2 separate regions of the Homo sapiens genome follow, and region 2 is linked to region 1. The links are contacts of gene promoters, found by promoter capture Hi-C in blood cells and fetal thymus (Javierre and others, 2016). All regions are on one chromosome and are shown on one strand. The core of a region is centred on a gene start or on the middle of the fragment in contact, and the rest is flanking DNA. Distances in the headings are between cores, read along the strand shown.

The links. Contacts are between HindIII fragments. The CHiCAGO score rates a contact against its expected background, and 5 or more counts as called.
Region 2: the fragment with the promoter of NKTR here is called in contact with the fragment with the promoter of CCDC13-AS1 in region 1 in 17 of 17 cell types (neutrophils, M0 macrophages, M2 macrophages and 14 more); the score reaches 33.4 in neutrophils.

Annotation. Positions count from the first base shown.
Region 1 is chr3:42,730,969-42,735,016 of GRCh38, forward strand. CCDC13-AS1 (CCDC13 antisense RNA 1) reads left to right here and starts at 1,607. Exons shown (of 4, transcript NR_046732.1): 1 at 1,607-1,690. CCDC13 (coiled-coil domain containing 13) reads right to left here. Exons shown (of 16, transcript NM_144719.4): 11 at 2,502-2,641; 12 at 1,919-2,002. RefSeq lists enhancers at 1,329-1,623, 2,153-2,838, 2,839-3,522 and a silencer at 1,329-1,623. The HindIII fragment of the contact is 15,297 bases long and covers 1-4,048 here.
Region 2 is chr3:42,597,979-42,602,002 of GRCh38, forward strand. NKTR (natural killer cell triggering receptor) reads left to right here and starts at 2,708. Exons shown (of 17, transcript NM_005385.4): 1 at 2,708-2,800; 2 at 3,006-3,086. The coding sequence starts at 3,029. It also overlaps a transcript of SEC22C not described here. RefSeq lists a silencer at 2,802-3,011. The HindIII fragment of the contact is 13,164 bases long and covers 1-4,024 here.

The sequences.
Region 1 (4,048 bases), core at 357-2,856:
TGTGTCCCTGCCAGTCTCTCCCAGCCCTCCTGCATCTTCTGGCTTGGTCCCCAAGCCCAGCCCACTTTCCTGGAGCCTGTGCATTTGGCTTTGTGACTTGTTCAATTTTCTCCAGCCCTAAGCCAACCCATCACTGCTTCCCTCTTACCTGCTGGCTGGAGCCAGGACAGAAGGTAAACTCTGCCCCCCAACTTCAACCCCCCAGAGCCCACATGTGAGTTCCAAGCTGCTCTCCGCTGTGCCCCCACTTTTCCCAGTGAGACCCTGAGCTTACTTTTCTAGCAGTACAGGGCATAGGGAAGGCTGCAGAGCTGGGCAGTGTACTGAAAACTGGGCTGGGGCATGTGATCCTGAGGGCTGACTTCTCGGTGGTCTTGGGCAGGTCTCTTCCTCTCTCTTGGCCCCAGTTCCCCCACTAAACATTGAGAGGGGTGGTTTAGATGGGCTCCGAGAACTGCAGACCCCTCTGTGACTCCTAAATATGCTCTAAGGCCTTGCTACTACAAGTGGTCTCTGAATCGGTGGCTCTGGCATCTCCTAGCAGCTTGTTAGAAATGCAGAATCCCAGGCTTTACCCCAGACCTGCTGAATCAGAACCCACACTTGACCTGGCTGATCAGCAGGGGCTCTGTGTGTGCACTGCAGTTTGGAAAGCCCCATTCATTTCCCCAGTTCTAGAATGTGGGAAGAGGAGGAGCAGGAGCAAAGGGCCGATTCTTCACTCTGCCCTCCTCCCAGGCACCCCACCAGAGTCACCTGAAGGGAATGGGTTCAAACCATGCCAGCCCGAATAGACATACTCTCTGGGATCACTCTGCCCTGTGAATTCCTGTCCTGTCACCTGTGGGAGGGGACTGTAAGCTCCATGAGGGTAGGGCCCACACATGGTCGAGTTTAGTAAGTATTTGTGTGTTGTGGAAGAAACAAGCCTGACAACCAGCAGTCTGGGCAGCCAAGGCACAGAGCAGCTCCTGTATTTCTGTGTGGCACAGAGGTCACAGCCACACAGGCCTGGAAGGGGCTCGAAGGGGTCATCTTGTCCATCTTCCTGCTCTCTTTACTGTGACTAAAACCTCAGAGAGGCAGAGCCTCCCCAATCTCCCTGTGCTGTGACAAGACCTCCCACCCTAAGGAGCGTGGCACATGCCTTGTGGCTCAGTGTCAGCCCACTCTCCCCAAGTGCCTTTATGACCCCAGCCTGATGGGTGGGGCAGCTTTGGCCCACAGACCCTATGCTGCCAAGTGTCAGCAGCATGCTGTCCCCCACTTTTCGGGGATAGCAGCCCAGAGAAGGACCAGTTTGCCTGGAGCCACAGAGATGAGGGACTGGGGCCACTTGGAGGCTTTGCCTGGAACCTGAGCTGACCTGCCTGAGGGGTCAGGGTGGGGAGTGTTGACAGCAGGAGCATGGCTCCAGTGGACAGTGGGCAGGGCTCGGGACAGGGCTTAGAGGCAGGACAACGCTGTCCTTTGTCTATGGGCTGGCAGTAGGAACAAAGGGCCCATTTACACCCTCTGGCTTGATTCTGTCAACAAAGAGGGGGCCCAAGGTCTGAGGGGATATCAGTGGGAACCCATATCATGTGAAATTCTCCCCTTAGAGGCTGATTCTCAATGAGCAAGAGAAGATGAGGGAAGGTGCTAGAAGCCAGGCCCAGGAAGGTTCCTCAGGTTAATTCTCACGTAGCAGGTAGGAACCCTAGCCTGGGAGTCAGAGGCCAAGATTCTAGTTCTGAAGCTGCTTACTCTATCATCTTGGACAGGACTTCCCTGATCCTCCCTGTCTTTATGTAACCTTGGAAGAGTCCCTGGACTTTGCCTGGCCTCAGTTTCCCCTCCTTTTAATGGGATGGCAATACTGGTTGAGCAATCAAGAATGGGAAAAAACTGTGAGAGTCCGGGGGTCGGGGGTCCATACCTAGGTGAGGTCCTGTGGGGACTGGGCAGGGAAGGCCTCGTGAGAGCAGATTCCACCAGTGTGTGGCCCAGGCTGGTCACAGAGCTGTGTAAAGGCGGAAGGGGCCCATCAGCCTGGGAAGGCAGACCAGGCCCTACTGGGCCTCACCTCTGCATGTGAGGTGGAGCAGTGGCCAGCAGGGGTCCAGGAAACCCTTGCAGCAGTCCTGTGGATTTGCTGCCCTTCTTTCCAGAACTCTTGTTTGCTCAAAATGAGACAGAACAGGAGACACCAGAGCCTTGAACAACCCAACACGGGTCTGTTTGAAGGCCCCAGGGGCAGAAAACTTTTGAGGCCAGCTCAGAAAGGCTCTTACAGAGAGCTGCAACCAGCATGCTCTTGAAGTGATAAAATCTGGGCCTAACCGGCTCATTTCTGCAGACGCAGAGCTAATGTCATAGGAGAGGCCCACGTATTGGAAGAACAACAGCATAGTCATCTTAAAATTGCACCTGTGGCTTCCCATCAGAGGTAGCAAGAAACAACCTTTCTTCCGAATAATTAATGTTCACTTTCCAACCCCTCCCTCCCATTGTTTTCTTACCGAGAAGATCCAAGCCTGCCAACATGATCGCCTGCTGAGGCCGGGGACTTGGTCAGGCCTGGGTCCTCCAGGAACTGGGTATAGGCAGGGCTGACCTCGCGGCCACTGGACCCCTCACCCACTCCTTTATTCCGAAGATACTGTAGGAACAGATGTGGGTTCCATCCTCAGGGCTTTGGCTCAGAGGCCTAGAGAAGGCAGGAGGGGATCTTGGCTTGATTTCGGGGCTTTCAGAGGATATGAAAGAGGCTTCTTTTCAGGAGTGAAAAGCGAGGCCTGTTTGGTGAAGGCACTACTTGCATGATAATGACATCTAATAATGCCTCTCTTCAGAAAGAAAGCTACATGGTGTGAGGACGGTGACTGGGCCAGGAAGCTGTTCTACATTCAGGTTCCAGAGGGAGGTGCACGGCCCTGCATGCGGGGCAGGTCAGAGACTGACGTCTCTGAGTGGGTCCGCTTCTCCAGGCGGCCCCACCCACATGTGGTTGAACACCAGGTGTGACTTGAGGCCAGCTGCCTTCCTCAGCTGGAACACCTGGACCTTCCAGACACCTGCAGCCAGAGAGGCTGGCAGGGACTCAGTGAGGGCAGGCAGCCTTGGGTGGAGGCTAAGCCTGCCAGGCCCCCACCCCTCCCTCAACCCCTTCCTCTTCTGGATACCTGCTGGGGCTGGACTGGACAGGAACATTAGAGGACCCCCAGCAGGAGGTCAGGCCACCAGAGTGGACAACCGGTGTAAGCCCCTAACAACCTGGCTTGTCCCCCAGCCCCACCCATTTTGAGAAAACTCGAAACGTGTGCCGACTTAAGTCTGGTGGGTAATGCTTGGCCCCCATTCAGCTGGTGACCTCGGAGGTAGGAACAGTCTTCTCCTGTGTGCCTGGAGAAAGGACAGTGGTGAGGTGAAGATGCTGGAATCTTCCCCTTCAGACTTCCCTCCCCAGTGAGCCAGGATGGGGAGCAGGGTGAGTCCCCATTCACTGCCGTATGTGCTCTGTTCCCAGACTTCCTTGTGCCCCCAGGCTCCCCTTCAGCCTCACAGCACTATGTCACAGCCAGTCCTGGGGCCCCAGGCTACCCTGGCCTGTGGGAATAGAGGCTACAGGACAAACCAGGCTGGTCAGCCAATGCCAGACTGAGGCAGGGCCGAGGGGCTCTTGGGCTCTCACCTCTGAACAAACCACGGATCCCCAGAAACAAAGAGCAGGGCTGCTTTGCAACATGCCTTTGGCTGAGCCAGTCAATTTCCCAGTGGGCCAGAGGCTGCAAGGCTCCTTTGTCACTGGGAGACCTGCATGCCTGTCAAGAAATTCTCCCCAAGGACACCACCCAGCCCCACCACCACCCCAGGGAGGTGAAGGTGCCTGACTCCTAGCAGCCCCAAGCTGTGCCCTCAAGGCACCTGCCAAGACAAAATATCTTTACAAGCTCATGCCTTAGACAAGCATTTATTGAGCATCTACTGTGTGCTTGCTCCAGTGCCAGGCACTGAGGCACCACGGTCTGTGCTCCCTTACAGAGAGTGCAGGGGAGAAAACAGGAAA
Region 2 (4,024 bases), core at 1,458-3,957, 130 kb before region 1:
GAAATGTAAAATAGTGCAGCTATGGAAAACAGTATGGTAATTCCTGGAAAAATCTTAAATGGAATTAGCTTATGATCCAGTGATTCCATTTCTGGGCATATATCCAAAATAATTGAAAGCAGGTTTCAAAGAGGTATTTGTACACCCACATTCATAACAGTACTATTTACAACAGCCAAAAGGTAGAAGCAATCTAAATATCCACTGACATATGAATGGATAGACAAAATATGATATACACATACAATGGAATATTATTCAGCCTCAAAAAAGGAAATTCTGACATGCTACAACATGGATGAAATGGAAGACATGCTGAGTGAAATCACCCAGCTACAAAAGAACAAATTTTTTTTTTTTTTTTTTTGAGACAGAGTCTCGCACTGTCACCCAGGCTGGAGTGCAGTGGCGCAATCTCGGCTCACTGCAATCTCTGCCTCCCGGGTTCAAGTGATTCTCCTGCGTCAGCCTCCTGAGTAGCTGGGATTACAGGTGCCTGCCACCACGCCCTGCTAATTTTTTGTATTTTTAGTAGAGACGGCGTTTCATCATGTTGGCCAGGCTGGTCTCGAACTCCTGACCTCATGTGATCCACCCGCCTCAGCCTCCCAGAGTGCAGGGATTACAGGTGTGAGCCACCGCACCTAGCCTACAAGAACAAATATTACATGATTTTACTCACATATGAGTAGACAAATACTAGAGTAGACAAATTTACAGAGAGAAAGTAGAAGGGTGGCTGCCAGGAACTTGGGAAAAGAGGGAAATGGGGAGTTACTGTTTAATAATACAGAGTTTCAGTTTTGCAAGATGGAAAATGTTCTGTGGACGGATGGGAGGTACTGAGGGTTGTACAACCGTGTGAAATACAGTTAATGCCAGCGAACTGTACACTTAAAAATGGTTAAAATGGCAACTTTCACATAATGTGTATATATATCTATAGATCTATAGATATCTAGATATCTGTAGATCTATAGATCTATAGATAGATTTTTTTTGTTTGAGACGGAGTCTCGCTCTGTCACCCAGGCTGGAATGCAGTGGACCGATCTCGGCTCACTGCAAGCTCTGCCTCCCAGGTTCACGCCATTCTTCTGCCTCAGCCTCCCGAGTAGCTGGGACTACGGGCGACCGCCACCACGCCCGGCTAATTTTTTGTATTTTTAGTAGAGAAAGGGTTTCACCGTGTTAGCCAGGATGGTCTCGATCTCCTGACCTCGTGATCCGCCTGCCTCGGCCTCCCAAAGTGCTGGGATTACAGGCATGAGCCACCACGCCCGCCCATGTAATGTGTATTTTATAGTTTAAAAAAAAAACTTATAAAATAGTGTGGTACTCAGACACAGATCATTGGAACAAAAATCCAGAAACAGACCCACACATATATGGTCACAAGGCGAAGGTAATTCAATGTATAAGAGTCTTTTCAGGCCGGGCGCGGTGGCTCACGCCTGTAATCCCAGCACTTTGGGAGGCCGAGGCGGGCGGATCACGAGGTCAGGAGATCGAGACCATCCCGGCTAAAACGGTGAAACCCCGTCTCTACTAAAAATACAAAAAATTAGCCGGGCGTAGTGGCGGGCGCCTGTAGTCCCAGCTACTTGGGAGGCTGAGGCAGGAGAATGGCGTGAACCCGGGAGGCGGAGCTTGCAGTGAGCCGAGATCCCGCCACTGCACTCCAGCCTGGGCGACAGAGCGAGACTCCGTCTCAAAAAAAAAAAAAAGAGTCTTTTCAACAAACGGTAATGGAACGACTGTATATCCCAATAGGAAAATGTTGACACTTACTTGACAACATAAGCAAAAATTAATGATATTAGATCATATCATAGACTTACACGTTAAAGACTATGTAAAACATATATGAGAACACAGAATATCTTCAAGAACTTGAGGTAGGCAGAGATTTCCTAGCACAGGAAAAGCACAAACCATTAAAATATAAAACTGACCAATTGACTTAATCAGAATTAAAAACTTCTTTGCCAAAAACGTCAAAACAATGAAACGACAGGCCCAGATTGGGAAAAAGACTTCGCAATCATTTATGTAACAAAAGATTTTCATTCAGAGCATACATATATCTAACAAAACATTTGTATCCAGAACTGTTAAACACGAAGGACCAGATTTAAAAACGGGCAGAAGACTGGAACTGAAACTTCACAAAAGATGCAGAATGGTCAGTAAGCACAGGACAAAAACGGTGCCAGTGACGCTGGTGCCAAAGCGGGAAGGAACGCATTCTTCAGCCTAAAAGACCTAACAGTAGGACACGGACATAACCACTCCCGGCCAAAAAGAACACAGAGCAACACAACGTCTTGGCTAACGAAAACTCAAAGCCTCAATTCACTCAGTTCCTTCACAGCGCTCGGAAACAGAGAAGTCTCGCGGTATCGGAAAATGCGCGGCGCTCACAGCCACACCTGACGAGATGGAGGGCGCAGGCGCATCCACGGCTTTCAGATTGGGCGACTGACTTCAAAGGGGGGGGCAAACAGGGAACGCGCAGGTATAGGAGCGCTGGCTGGAGGCTCCTCGAGAGCTCCCCAGACACGCCCCCGTGCGTACGCCCCCGTGCGTACGCCCCCGCTGCCGCCACCTTCGGTTGACCACCCCCATCTAGACTGTACTCTCGCGGTATTTGTCCCGACTCTCGCGGGGTTTAGCGTGGCATTGGGAGGCCCGGCCTGGGGGAGGAGACGGCGTTCCGTTAGCGGCGTTGGGGTTTGGCTGCAGTGGCAGTGCTTTCTCTTCTGCTCACGGGGACCCGCTCAGGCTGGAGGCCAGCCAGGTGAAGAGCTCGCCCGCATGCGTGCGCGCTGCGTGGGAGCCGCGAGGCCCGGGGCGGGAGGGGGCCTCGTCTTGGCCTCCTGCGCTGTCGCGACGGGCCGGCGTGAGGCACCGTGGCGCGGACTTCGTCTCAGCCCCGCCCTCGCCCCTGCCCTCGCCCCCGCCCTCGCCCCTGCCCTGACCGCTTTTCTCCCCCTCTCTCCCAGCTCTTGCCGCCACCTCGGTCGCGATGGGGGCGCAGGACCGGCCGCAGTGCCACTTCGACATCGAGATCAACCGGGAGCCGGGTGAGCTGGAAACTGGGGAGCGCTGCTGGGGCCGAGGCCTGCCTTGGCGAAGGGGAGGGGTCTACCCTCAGCAACCCTCCCCCGGCCTTTTTGGGAGCGGGTAGGAGGCGCAGGCAACTTTCCGTTTTCTCTTGAGAGAAAATCAGTGGGAGAGGAAGGTGGCCTGGGCACACCCCTAACTCGCAGTCCGGGCCTCTTCCTGCCAAACCCCACACACCCCGCTGCATCTCCGGACTGAGTCCTCGTAGCCAGCCTGGCGCCAAGAAAAGGAGGTGCAGTTCTTTGAGGACTTTTTCTCTCCCAGTGTCTCCGTGAGGCAGACACTCCCGATCCGATTTCCGGTTATCTTGCTTGGTGCTATGAAGTTTCAACTAGTAGGAAATATTGTGTGTTTCCTAATCACGATATATCACTAATATGTTAATTTTGCCTCTATTTTTCCTTAAGAATCTTTAGCTAGAATTTCGTGGTTCCTGGGAAAATGGCTTAGTGAAGATCTTTTGTGATAAACCAGAGCATTTTGTACCAGCAGAATTGCAGCATGCATGCACTTAGCATTAATGTTTGTCTTTAGGGAATCCAGACATTTGTTAGTGTATTTTTTTTAAATGAAACATTTCCTTCTAAAGCATAGTTATTTCATTCTAAGTAGCAGAGCGTGCAGGGTTTCAAACTGTTTTCTTAGCTTTTTTTGTTATCCGTGACAAAAGTTTTAATTGGAGACATATATATATGTGTTGTCTTTGTGCAACATCTTGTTCTGCATATTCTTATGAGAGCCTGCTACTGTTCTAGGGTCTGGAGATAGAGCAGCGCATAAAACAAAGGCCTCTTCCTTTTATAGTTTATATTCTATTGGGGGGAAGACGGACAACTAGGAAAAAAATAACAGTGACTTGTAGTTGGGATACTATTTTAATAAGTTGGTCAGACAAGGC